Regions from separate parts of the Homo sapiens genome. Here region 1 is linked to region 2. Evidence: promoter capture Hi-C in 16 types of primary human blood cells and fetal thymus (Javierre and others, 2016). All regions are on one chromosome and are shown on one strand. Each heading gives the region's core, a stretch centred on a gene start or on the middle of the fragment in contact. The rest is flanking DNA. Distances are from core to core; before and after follow the strand shown. Region 1 has its middle 15 kb from the start of HOXC13. Region 2 holds the start of HOXC6 (homeobox C6).

Evidence for each region. The method cuts DNA at HindIII sites, captures the fragments that hold promoters and counts their contacts. A CHiCAGO score of 5 or more calls a contact.
Region 1: a fragment that was not itself captured here is called in contact with the fragment with the promoter of HOXC6 in region 2 in 2 of 17 cell types (naive B cells and total B cells); the score reaches 7.7 in naive B cells.

The regions. Positions count from the first base shown.
Region 1 is chr12:53,921,072-53,927,062 of GRCh38, reverse strand. No RefSeq gene overlaps it. Among named protein-coding and RNA genes, the nearest start is that of HOXC13, 15 kb to the left of the region's middle. The HindIII fragment of the contact is 2,986 bases long and covers 825-3,810 here.
Region 2 is chr12:54,024,613-54,031,540 of GRCh38, reverse strand. It overlaps HOXC6 (homeobox C6), which reads right to left and starts at 3,101. Exons shown (of 2, transcript NM_004503.4): 1 at 2,620-3,101; 2 at 718-1,886. The coding sequence starts at 3,019. The coding sequence ends at 1,579. It also overlaps a transcript of HOXC4 not described here and a transcript of HOXC5 not described here. The HindIII fragment of the contact is 15,214 bases long and covers 1-6,550 here.

The sequences.
Region 1 (5,991 bases), core at 1,068-3,567, 100 kb after region 2:
GTGAGAATCCAAGGGCGGCGGGTGTTTTTTAATGATTATTAGAAATAGTCAAACTCTTCTTGTAATGACCTCATTCTTGCCAGATGTGTCTTCTGATCTCACCAGAATGCGGCACTTTAAAAAATTGAATCCAGTTTTGGAATTAATAAGATGTGAAATATGTTTATTTTATTTGGGGTTGAAGGGCCAGGCAATTCTTCTGCCTTCATGGATTTTACTGGCTTCTGTGTCCAGTGGCACATTTTACCAGATTGTTTTCAGTAGCTCGGATATTTTAGGGTCGTGTTCACTTTCAGGCTCTCTGAGACCTAGGAGTTTCAGGTGCATATTCATTACACAAGGGATGAGAAGTTCCATTGGGGGAAGGAACAAATCTCCTGCGAGTAGGTCTCAGTAGTCAAGCTACAGGAGCCTTCCTTATCTTCAAGAGGCAGCTGAGCATGGCTACCTTTGCTCTGCTCTTTCACAGAAATCCTTTTCTCTCCCAGTCCCTTTTTTTCTCCCCGCCATCCATCAACCTGCACCATTCAGAGAAAAGTCCCTTTGGGGAGTGATGACCTTCCTTTTGGAGAAAGAAATACTCTCATAAGATTGCTGCCTATGATGGTTGAACGTCTGGTACCCCATGAGGATCTTCTATATCCAAATTTGCCACTGGACACAGAAGCCAGTAAAATTTCAACCATTATAAAGATATAGCAACTGCTCCCTCCAAATCCTGGGCCTGCAGCTGGACTACACCCCCAGCATTTTTTGCAGTTTCATATGGATGTGTGACTTAGTTCTAATTAATGGAATGCATGTGCCGTTTCCTGGCCAAAGCTTTTAACAAGTGGGTGTGTTCCCATTCTCCTCCGTGCTCTCTGTCTTCTTCCTCTGTGAGGATGTCCACCATGGCACCCTAGGGAATAGTTCAGACACGCGATAGGAAGAGCCTGGATCCCTGAACCACATGGAGAGGGCAGCCACCCACTGGCAAGAATCATCTGCCTAGGACTTTACCTGAGGAAGGAATAAGTTTCTATTGTATTTAAGTGACTATATGTTTTGGGGTTTATTTACAATCATATCCCAGTCCATCCTTTACTCTTTAAAAGGCGAAATACAATTTCATTTTTGTGTTCTGTCACCCTTTATCAATGTCAATGGATGTTAGCTAACACTTCTTGGCTCTTGGATTAAAACTCCAGGGGGCCCCAGACTCTTCTGCCTGCTCTTAGGTAATAGACAATCCTGTAACAACTTCAAGTCATATACACAATTTCAAATCTTAGGGAGAATGTCCAGTGCAATGTAGCTTCAAGACTCTGAGCTCGGTTTAATGTGATATTTTCTTCCTTCCCTCACTCAAGTTTGCTTTAGCCTAGATGTGTGTAGAAGGAACGAGGGGTAATTTTTTAACCTTGTGTTTCTCTTCTTCCCCCGCACCCCCCGCCCGACCCTTATCTGTTGTTTCAGGCTCACTAGGGTTTCAAGGGATGAAGAGAGTGAAGGATTGGCTCAAACAGTTTTCTAATGGTTTGAATTGTAGAGATAAGCCAACTAGATCAGGGCTACTATAGTTGAAACTGCATAGCACCAAATAAAGCAGAGTTTTGGCAACTCACTACCAAAACCGTAGATTTCCTGAATTGTTCAGTTTGATATATTTCCAGATCTAAGGAAAGAACCACCATTCATTTCACTAGATTGTATGGTAATAGCTCCAGTTGGTCCCTTGGAAAAACAGCTGGCACAAAAGCATTTTTTTCCAGAGGTGATGAGAATACATTCTTTTGCATTGGTTCACCCAAATTTCTCCCTCCTAGTCCCTGGATATGTAGGCCAGACCCAGTCACAGGAGATGAGGAAATGAGTTCCTGCTTTTTTGGCCCCTGCCAACAACAAGAACTGGGCAGCCTCCTTCTTGCAGTTTTGTTTTGCATTCTGCTTATTCTCTTATGGAAATCACAGCAGCTGCCTTATAGTTAGGCAGTCTGCCAGCCTCTCTGGCACTTTTGAGACATTGGCATCTCTCTTTATAATGAATGCCAAGCCACTCAGACCAGCGTTGGGTCACCAGGTGGGGAGAAAGCCTGTCAGATATAGCATGCCAAGTGAAAAAAAGAAGTGTTAATGATGCAGTTAACTTTGTCTATGGACATTGCTTGACTATGATATTTTAGGACTGCCTACATGCTGACAAAGGAAAACTTCAGTCCTTCATTGGATTATTTCCAAATATCCAAATATATGTTAACAAGTGGATGGATTAGCCAGATAACATTTTTCTCTTGCTTACAGCCGGTTGCTTGGCATTACACAGACCCTTATTATGTGTGGACACCATTGAGTGGCACCAGCACTCTCTCAGCCTGGGCTGGGGGAAGAGCCATAGAGTGGGATGTGGGCAAATAAAAAACATTTAAATCTAAGGGTAAGACTAATCCAGACTTGGAAACCTACTTACCACTGTGAGCCAGGGAGGATTTTGGATGTTCATGGTTAACAGTTAAGTCAGTCTGGAAATTACTCTGGTCTTTGGAAAGAATGTAGATTGTGTTGAAGATTGAATTATCCATCATGGATGACCACTTGGTCATGGATGACCGCTTTCTCTGGATTATTTCTAATCTAATTTTCTTTTTCAAGTATATAGTGGGTTATATTCATCATCATCAACTTTCTGGCAACAACAGAAGTGGAAAGGGCCTGGCATTCAAAGGTGAGGTTGTGGGTCCCTATAATGAAACACTCTGATGGTGGGAATAGCTAGATAATGGAGTGGGATTTAAGAGTGAGACATCCATTTCCCTTGTGTAGCACTTTGAAACTAGTCTTTTCTAATTTACCTGAGCAGAAACTAGACTGGAAACAGGGGCATATCCAAGATGACCTCTCAAGGCCTCTTTTTTTTGCCTTTGGCTTCTGTAATTTTCTGACAACAGCTGTACCTGTAAAATGTGTTCGGATTCAGTAGCAGGGTCAGGGGCTGCTGTCACTTGGTGGATTTCAACAACATGACCCTGGCAAAGACTTTGGAATAAAAACATCAGGAAAATAAACACTCAATGCTCCATAGCCAGAGGACCAGCTGGGAGCTGTCAGGTTGAAATACTAGTCTATCTGGGAAGGGAAGGAAAAGGAGCAAGGCCTCCGACACTCTTCTGCCTCCTAGAAAATACCCCTCCAGCAGCAGAGGTGATGCCAAACACATCAAATTAATCAAGAAAAGAGATGGAAGAAGTATTAAGGCTGAGCTTCAACTCCAGCCAGTCTGTCAGTCAACACTCTGTCAGGAACAAGGCATTGCCTGGGCTGTGGGAGGGGAGCACCAGGAAACAAGAGACAAAGCCAGTTGCTGAATGTGGGGAGCCACACCCTATCTGTGCAGGGAGATGGAGCATATACTCAGGACCCAGGCAGAAAGAAAGGTGAGAAGATTGAGTGACAAGAGAAATGAGGGACCACAATGCAGGGAGGAGGAGGAGCGGGAGCTGCAGCAGAAGCGAGATGAATCAGACAAGACAGTCATTCCTTCAGAGGGGAGAGACACTTGGGGAGGAGAGCAGAAAAGGGCCCCAAGGGAGAAGTAGGAAAAGACTTGTGTCCCAACTTGGGCAATGGCTTGTGCAGTTTAGAGCCTGGAGAGGACAAGGTATGTGCTGCTGGAGAGAAGGCACTCGTCTGGCTGAGCAGAAATTCTACATTAGGGAGTCAGGGAGAAGAGGCTGGGAAACCGAGGAACTGTAAATCTGGCAGGACAGTATGAACCAAATAGGGATTTCTGGGAAAAGGTGTTTCTTACAAAAATGCTGATAGGAAGAAGCTTTTGTTCTGGCCGCCCTTTAGAAAAGAGGTAAAGTCTAAGCAGATGAGCATGATGCAGTTATCTGTCATCAGCTGTACAGCATAAACAGAAAAAGCAGGCTGCTTCACTTGTTCCAGCTTGAAGTGACAATAATGTCTGCCCAGCTATAGCAGGGGTATGCAAGGAAGATCTAGGGAATGTGTGGCAGCACATGTCTATATATGTCTCCTTGTGTGCAAGTGTGTGTGTGTGTAAGGCTGCTTGCACATGTGTTTTTATGTTCTGATTGGGCTGCATCTGAAGCGCTTTAGAAAAGTATAGAAATGATGTAACAATAAACTAATACATTAAATTAGTAGGCAGACTCATGAGAGGGTCTGAGTAATATACACCCATGGAGGAAAACATAATACAAAGCCTTCTACTCCATATACACATACACACACGCAGATGTTGAATAACATTCATTTGAATATTAGACGTGCACATGTACAAAGACATATTTTAAATATGGAAAAGACACAAATTCTATTGAATAACTGCCATCCATTTCATAGGTATGCTGTAGGAAAGACTAAGAGAAAAGTAGATTTGAAATGGCATTTAAATCATCTTATCTATTCTTTTGTCTATAAGAAAGAATGCCAGCTTACCAACTCCTTCAAGCAACATAATGCCTCGTTTTCTGAAAGAACTATTAACTGGGACTATTTGTCCCAGTCTCTAGCCCCTACTAGTATGTGTACTGTCTAGGAAAGTGCACTGAATCCCACTGGAGTCAAAAGGATTATTAGTCCACATCTGTCTCCTAATGGTAAAATATTCTTCAGTAAGTCATCTGTCTGACTCTGATTCTTCCTCTATTAAGTGTGAAAGTTGTCTATAAAATCTAAAGTTTCTTCTAGCTATAGTCTTAGGATATATATACATACACACACACACACACACACACACACACACACACACACACACACATATGTAAGATCTCTCTCTGTCTCTCTCTTTCACACATATTATCCAAGTGCCCAGAAAATTAGAGGATGACCACAATTGTCTACAAAATGTCCAAACAATGTTTCAGTTCTGTTTTCTAATGACAAAACTCCAAATATGATTTTTGACATTGTAAGGACTAAGGAGTTAATGACAGAAAAGTTTATCTTTCAAAACCTGAGAATGAACAGGTCTGTAGTCACCTGTTTCACACAAATCTTGGAAATCAGTGCTTTGATTATGACACAATGTCACAACAATAAGATGATTTAGTTAAGTCAGTGAAAAAAAATTAAGTACGTTGGCCATTTGACATTGGGTAGTCAAAACATTTTTTTTTTTTTTTTTACATTTTAAGCAGATCCACTCTTTGTCAGTTATGGGTGCACCCACTTCCACTATAAGAGATGCTTGGGCCCTTTTCTCTCTGGATCTCTCTCACCCCCACCACCAATACCCAGCAAGAGAATTTGCTTAGGTCTCCTGGAGTGGCCACATTCTGAAAGTCTATAGTATATACCAATATACCTTAATATTCTCCATGTATATGTATATTGAATAACAGACAGACCATCAATAATAGCATGCTTTCTTTTCTTTTTTTGTTATTTTATTTTATTTTACTTTAAGTCTTGGGATACATGTGCAGAACATGCAGGTTTGTTACACAGGTATACCTGTGCCATGGTGGTTTGCGGTTTGCTGCACCTATCATCCCATCATCTCGGTTTCAAGCCTCACATATCTTAAGTATTTGTCCTAATGCTCTCCCTCCCCTTGCCTCCCACCCTCCGACAGGCCTGCATGCTTTCTTTTCAAGGCCCGTGGTAGAGAATTAGCACTTGTCACAATATTCCACGGCAAAAAAAAAAAAAAAAGGTTTGCAGCTGGTAAACTTCACCTTGAATGTCAACAGGGGGCTGATCTCATATCACAGCAGCCTGAGATAACCTGTATCACAAAGTCAAGCCTGGCTGTGATTACTTAGCATTTATATAGCACTTTATCTGGGTCCTGTATGTCAGCATCATTAATGGGAGATCAGTCACCAGGAGTTACAGCCAAGGACAAAATTCATGACCAAAAAGGAGGAAAGAAGAGAAAGCTGAAAGGATTTGAGTAATCCCGTAGGGGTATGTGGTTACTCAGTAATGGGGAGGGGCAGATATGCTATGTAAAGAGGGCAAGGAAAGCTCTTTTGTCCCTCT
Region 2 (6,928 bases), core at 1,852-4,351:
CCGGCTGCGCTCCTCACCCGCCTCTTCACCCGTTTGAGGAGAGAAAAGTAAGGAACCAGCCCGGCTGGAGCTGTAATGAAGAAGGAATTTTGTCCCGGCCACGTCAGGAGTACCAGAGCAGGCGAGAGCTCAGTTTCCAGGCTTTCTCTCTCGAGATGTCCTTGAATCGCTCAATCCCTGCCGACAGGGCTCCAGTCCCGCGGTCTTCTCTTTCCCTCCGCTCTCCGCCTCCGCTACGTTTCGCAACAGCCAGCTTGGCGCGGGCCTGGGGCTTGCTCTCACGGCGCCCCCCGCCTCCAACTCCCGGGAGTGGGTGGAGGAGACCCTGGTGCCTGGATAGTGCTTCTTTACTGGTCTTTCGGGGCGCCTCAGGGTTCGGACGCCGAGGACACCGGCTGCCACAGGCAGGAAGAAAGGCCTGCGTGGGGTTGGTGCCCAAACCGACTGATCCCAGCTCCCCCCGCAACAAAATCCTACGCGGCTTTTTCCCGCAGGGTGTGTGTGTTGCTCCGCGCAGGGAGCCCAGAGAGGCCTCCCAGCCCCTCAGTGCGATCGCGAGAACGAACAGAAGGCCGGGGCCGGGCGCCTGGGCTCCGGGGAAGGCGAGTGCAGAGGGCTGGGGGCTTGCAGGGGGCCGGCAGGCGCGGGAGCGCTTGGAGCCTGCTCCAGCTCTCACCCTGAGGCCGGCGGGCGAGCGAATTAACAGAATTCCCGGTATAAAGTTTTAAAAATAATATCAGTTTTATTAAATATTCGAGAACGGACCCAGAGGTTGGATTTATACAGGAGGGTAACACGAAGGGATTTATTTATTTATTTATTTTCTCCTACTGGCTAAACAAACGTCATTCACTTTTTTTCTCTCTTTTTGTAATTTTCCCTCTTTTTTTTCCTTTTTTGAAATTGGATAGGAACACTGACGGTGCTAAACATAAATATAAATACAGAGACCACAAATACAGCTAAAAATCTTCACACAGAAACGGTCACAGTTTGTAAAATGCCATAATGACCCCCAGGATTCTTTAAATACAATTTGCCTGGGCTGGGCATTTGCTGGGGCAGAGGGGCTAGGCAGGGACTGCGGGGAGGCCCTGGGGGTTGGTGTGGGGCCAAGGCGCGCCCTCCTTGGGCCTCCGGCCCTCCCCGGCTGCCAGGCCGGGCCCTGAGGCCCTGGAGCAGAGGCCCCAGCAGGCCCAGGAGCCGGCTCTCTGCACGGGGGGCGGGGGTGGGGGCGTCGAAGGAGTGGGGGAGCCAAGTCCTCACTTGGAGGGCAATCTGTAGAGTCTGAGTTCAGGGTCCGAGCCCCCAAGGCCTGGACGGGGAAAAGGGCCTGTAGACAAGCCGAGAACGAGCTAGCAAGGGAGCGAGGAGGAGGAGGCGCGTGGTGAAAGAGAGTTGTGCGGTGAGGGAGGGGGTCCAGAGCTGACTTTCAGGTCCACGTTTGACTCCCTAATTTTGTTTTAGGGAATCAAAACACATCAATTGTGCCAGTGATAAATACAGAGTGTGTGATTAGGGGAGAGTTGGTGGGGAGCGAGGGAGAAAGGGAGAGAGGGGTGGCAGGGACAGTCCTGGTCACTCTTTCTGCTTCTCCTCTTCTGTCTCTTCCCGCTTTTCCTCTTTTCCGCCCAGGCTGTCGGCGGTGGCCCCTCCGCCGCCCCCCGAGAGAGTGGATGTGAGATTAGATTCTTTTTTCCACTTCATCCGGCGGTTCTGGAACCAGATTTTGATCTGTCGCTCGGTCAGGCAAAGCGCGTTGGCGATCTCGATGCGCCGGCGCCGCGTTAGGTAGCGATTGAAGTGAAATTCCTTCTCCAGTTCCAGGGTCTGGTACCGCGAGTAGATCTGGCGGCCGCGCCTCCGGTCCGCTCCGTAGCCGACCCCTAAAGATCCGGGCACAAAACACACTAAAAGCAATCAGCAAAGCGTCCTCTGCAGACTGTTTCGCCTAGCAAAGTCCTGACCCTCCCAACCTGGCCAGCAGCTCACAGCCTCCTTAGGGCTCTAGCCTTCTCCCTTTTGCCTTGCCCCACCCCCACTGGGGGTACAGCGAGGACCCCAACTTCAGACCTCCTATAAGGTGGGACCTGTGTGTCCCAAAGAAAGGTGTGTGGTGGGGGGGGGGGCGGGGGGGCGGGGCAAAAGGCAAACAGAAAGCTGCAAGTCTAAAAGCAGATTTTTGAAAAATCCCAGATAATGGGGATGAGGGCCCCCTTTCTCAAGGACTGGGCTCCCCCATCTCCCCAAGCATCCTAGTTCCTTGGAAACTTCTCCCCACTTATCTGCCTCTCCTCTCCCCCTCCCTTCTCCTCAGACTGACTCCACTTTGGGGGGCTCCCCTATCTTCTGCTCCCTCCCCTCATCCCCTGCCCTGTTCCTGCCCCCTCAGCCCGCCTTGGGGCCCTCCAATCCGTCAGGGGCCAAGGGGGCCAGGCCCCTGCAAGCGAGCGAGAGGCGAGCTGAGGGGGCAGAAGAGGGGGCCCTGTCTCGGTGAGGAGACGAGCGTGATTGTTTTTATGGGGCCATAAAAAACTCTCTCCGCCCGTTCTTCTAGGGAAGCCGGTCATAAAGCCAGTTCAGTTTATTTAATTTATATCTCGGAGCTGTAAAACTCACCACTGTGCGAATTCATTCGCTGCATCCAGGGGTAAATCTGGATACTGGCTTTCTGGTCCTGGGGCGCAGTCCTGCCCTGCTCAGAACTAAAATCCTGAGCGATTGAGGTCTGTGTGTTATGTCCTAAGGTGTTTTGTCTGCAGTTTGAGAGCATGTCTTTCTCCTGGTAAAAGGAATTAGATCCATAGTCATACGGCCCCCGGCTGGAACTGAACACGACATTCTCCTGTGGCGAATAAAAGGGAGTCGAGTAGATCCGGTTCTGGGCAACGGCCGCTCCATAGGTCGAGAAATGCCTCACTGGATCATAGGCGGTGGAATTGAGGGCGACGTTGGGGAGGACGTCCTGGCCCCCGGCGAGGTGGCAGGATAAGGAAGGGTTAGTGAAGTAGGAATTCATCCCTTTGCCTTTACCTGGTCGGTCTATGATTTCTTTAATATTTATTTCTGTCTCCAGTTTGTACTCGGAACTAGATGGTTATAGGGACGGCTCCAATCCAGGACAGACAAAATGACAAAGTCAGCTGACCCCCTCCCAGCCAATCGCAAGCCAGATGTCAGGAAGGGGGAAAAAAATCGCTTCTGCTTCTGTTGATTCCCTAGTTGAGACTAAGTGTGTGCTTTGAAAGTAAGACTTGGATTTCTTTTAAAAAATATATATATATATATATATATGTAAGGGAACTGGTTTGGTGGTGAAGGAGGGGTGCATGTCCCTGAGCAGGGCCTTGGGACTCAGGGAAGGAGAGCTGTACTACCAGGAAATCTCTCAGCCCCAGCTAACTTTGCTGTGCTGTGGCCAGAGCCAGGGCTAGAGAAACCCCTGTATTTTCAATCTGGTTTCATGTTTTATATCTGCCCCCTTCTAAAATTACATCCTGATTTCTCCAAGGGAAGAACTCCCTCCCAGCACAGGAGGGGGGTCCCTAGAAATCCTGCAGGAAATCCTGTTTTGACACTCCATGGAGTGAGTCCCATCACTAAACTAGTATTTTTTTCACCAATAATTAAAAAAAAATCAAAAGTAGAAAGAAATTTCATAAAACCTGTTCCCCTGAGTAAGTAGAGTGTGGCTGAGAGTCTTGAATGTAGTAGGGATGTGGGGAACAACTAGGTCTAAAGGGGCAAGACTTCAGGGTACAGTGGCAGAGCTGGAGTGGGCAAATGGGCCACGCATCTGCTCTCCTTTGCCTCCTGGCTCCCTTCTGCCTCCTTCTCAGGACCCCTCTGTTGGGAAAACTCTTCCAGCATTTTTGCCTAAAAGGGAAAATGTATAAAAAATGCAATAGAAAAAGGAGAAAAAGAAGTAAAATGTAGGGAGGTGGCACCGGAGGGGGAAAGACAGAGAGAAAGAGAGAGAGAGGAAGAACGAAAACTCTGAGAATCTTTCTAGAGACATCAACTCCTGTTTATGTTGGTGAGAATTTATTATTTGGAGCCAGTGAGGGCCTGTGGGGTAATTCACATAGGATCCAGCCAGAAAGAGAAGGCTGGTGGGGCTCTGATGGACAGTTAGCTTCCTGCAGGCTCAAGCCCCTGCCTTGGTCAGAAGCCCCCCTGCCCCCTCCAGACTCAGGGCACCGCCAGTGGAGGCGCCCCTGGACCTGAGCTATGAGGCTTGGAGACTTCAGAAAGGGGTTCTAAGGAGCTCTCACCCAAGTGCCAGTCACCCGTGGTGGGGATGGGCCTCTCAGCAACCTCAACGCCCATTTTATTCCCCCATCTTGGGGCTAAAAAAAGGGAAGAGACGGTTACGAAAAGGCAGCTGAATCCGAGGCTTGTGAGGGAGCCGCAGTAGGCGAACTGAAACAGCGGAAAGTGTGCAGATGGGGGTTTTCTCCTGATTAGTCCAAACTTAATTTGATATCGTGATATAGGCTGAAAATGCCTTGAGTTGACAAAGAAGGGTGGTGGGGAGTGTGCGGGGAGCAGAGAAAGCTCATATCCCCCCCCCCCCACCATTTTTGGGTGGGTTGGGGGGGGGGAAAGCTGGCTATAACAAGAACCCGGATGTCGCCGGATTTTATGATCTTTTCCTTCTGTGTAACAAAGCGGAGTAATCAATGGGTAGCAATAAAGCCATAAACGGGACTATGCTGAGAAAAAACTCGTTTATTCATCTTCTGTAACGTTAAGGTTTCCCTGGAGTGTCGCTAGGGGGGAAAAATAAAGTTTCGAACCCAAAAGCAGACAGTGTGCAGGAGCTGGTGGAGACAACATGTTAGTTAATACATGAACCTCGTTAGGGGGTTGAAGAGTCTTCCTGCCAGACAATTTGTGTTGGTTTTAGAAAATACAGCCCCAATCCTCCAGAAAGGACAGAAATTTGTCGGTATTTGGAAGGGAAGGGGAAAGACTCCTATAATTATAAAGGTTCCTCCTTCTAGATCACACTTTCTTCTCCCCAAGGAAATGAAGGGGAAAGGGTAGAGGAGGATTTTTAAATTAAGAAAAAAAATTTTAGATGAGTTATCTCATTTTTGGGGTGACTTGGCAGGTACACAAACATAGACACCAATGTGAGTTGCTTTTTGCCCTAGAATCCAGCTGTCCTCGAATTCATGGCATGCCTGAGCAGAGGTTTCCAACAGCTGGCTGAGGCTTCAGGCCCCCTGGAGGGCAAGAGGTGGGGGAGAGACAACAAGGCAGGAGTACTCTGGGGACTGAGCTAGGGAACAAGTCAGTGCACCCCTGGACACAAGTAGCCTCTCTCAGAGTTCCCAGCCTCCTTTCTGCCCTAAGGGTAGTGGTGTAACAAGTAGAAGAGGCCGGAAGAGAGAGTAACTCTGTCCCCCCCTCCAATTTCAGAGAGAGATTGCTAGAGGGATAAATCATGTCAGTGATATTTCCTTCAAGATATTAAATTGTTGCAATGTACAACAAATTGAATGATGGAAGATAGGATGTCTTAATGAGGTTTCACTTTCAATGAGTGTTGATTTTCTATGTATTTAAAAATCTCTTTTATGTCTGGGTGGGGGAGGGAAGGACCTTGGAAGAAAGAAGGGGCTTCTGGGGCAGCATGGACTACAGCCCCCAGCAAGGATGCCTAGGTTTCCTTGAGCCCCTCCTCAACCATGTCTGGAGAGGAAAGGGGCCCCAAAGTTGGGGAGATTCTCTATTGGGGCCTAAAGTCGGTGGGCTCAGGGAGGTTGGCGACCTGAGAGGCAGAATGTGAGCCTCAGCCCCAGAAAGTTAAGTGTTTTATGACGTCCCTAAACAGAGGGCAGAGACTGAAAGGTCTCGCCGATTTATAATGAACAGAAACCAGCTGCTGGGTGAAAAAGGCAGAAATGCTGGAAGGGGGAGAGAAGGGGAAACAGAAATACAAATAAATTCCTCCACTGCTTAAAGACCTTTGGCAAAATTAATTTTCAACACCTCCCCCCCCCCCAATTACCTTTCATTCCTGAGGAAAGAAGAAGCCCTCTTCTTTCTCTTAGATCTTTAATTATGCAGCTGAAATTTGCTGAAAGGATTCGCTCCAAGGGGGGAGAGCAGGTCAGATGAGCCCGATCTTCCCTACATTGGATTATATTTTCTTTTTCCCATTTCATGTTAATTTTATTTTTTTGGCAAAAGAATGGCTGTCTATAGGGGGAAAGCTGGGACTTAGATTTTTCTAAATATATTTATATTTTCCTGTTAAATTTGTCTGAAAACAATTATGGAAACTCATCAGCAGAAGCAAGAACAGATGTTTTATTAAAACTGCAGTTGTGCTCTGTAAATATGCACAAGTCTTGGGAAGGAGGGGAGAGAACTTGTTCTTTGTTTCTATAAAACGAGCCTAAAGAAATCAGAGAACACTACCCCCCAACCCCATCAGGCTTGCAGGTCTCCTTGCTACTGCTCTGGCCCCTTAGCCTCCCAAATCAGGCATTCGGAAGGGGCTTGGTGTCAAGAGCAGATTTTCACTTTCAGAGAAGCTTTAATTAGTGGATTCAAAAACAGAATTCAAAAAACACAGAAAAAGAATACAAGGGAAAAATTGCCACTTGCTTCTCCAGTCCTCTCCAATGCAAAACACATGCTTTTGATAGCGCTAATTATAGGAGAGAAATTTACTGCCTGCGCCTTGGACCTGAGTGGGGTGCAGTCACTGGCCTGGAGTCCCCAAGGATAAGGGTGGCATTGCAGCCTGGGCACTTGGGGATTTCCCTAGGCAAGTTAAATGCTACCACTCCAGCCTTACTCCCCTTTAGGCCAGGGAAAGGCTGGGGGCATGTGAGCTCTGAACTGGGGAAAGGGTGGGTGGGACTGGACCCAGCCTGAAGAAGTTCGTGGGCAGGCCTCACCTTGCTGGCCT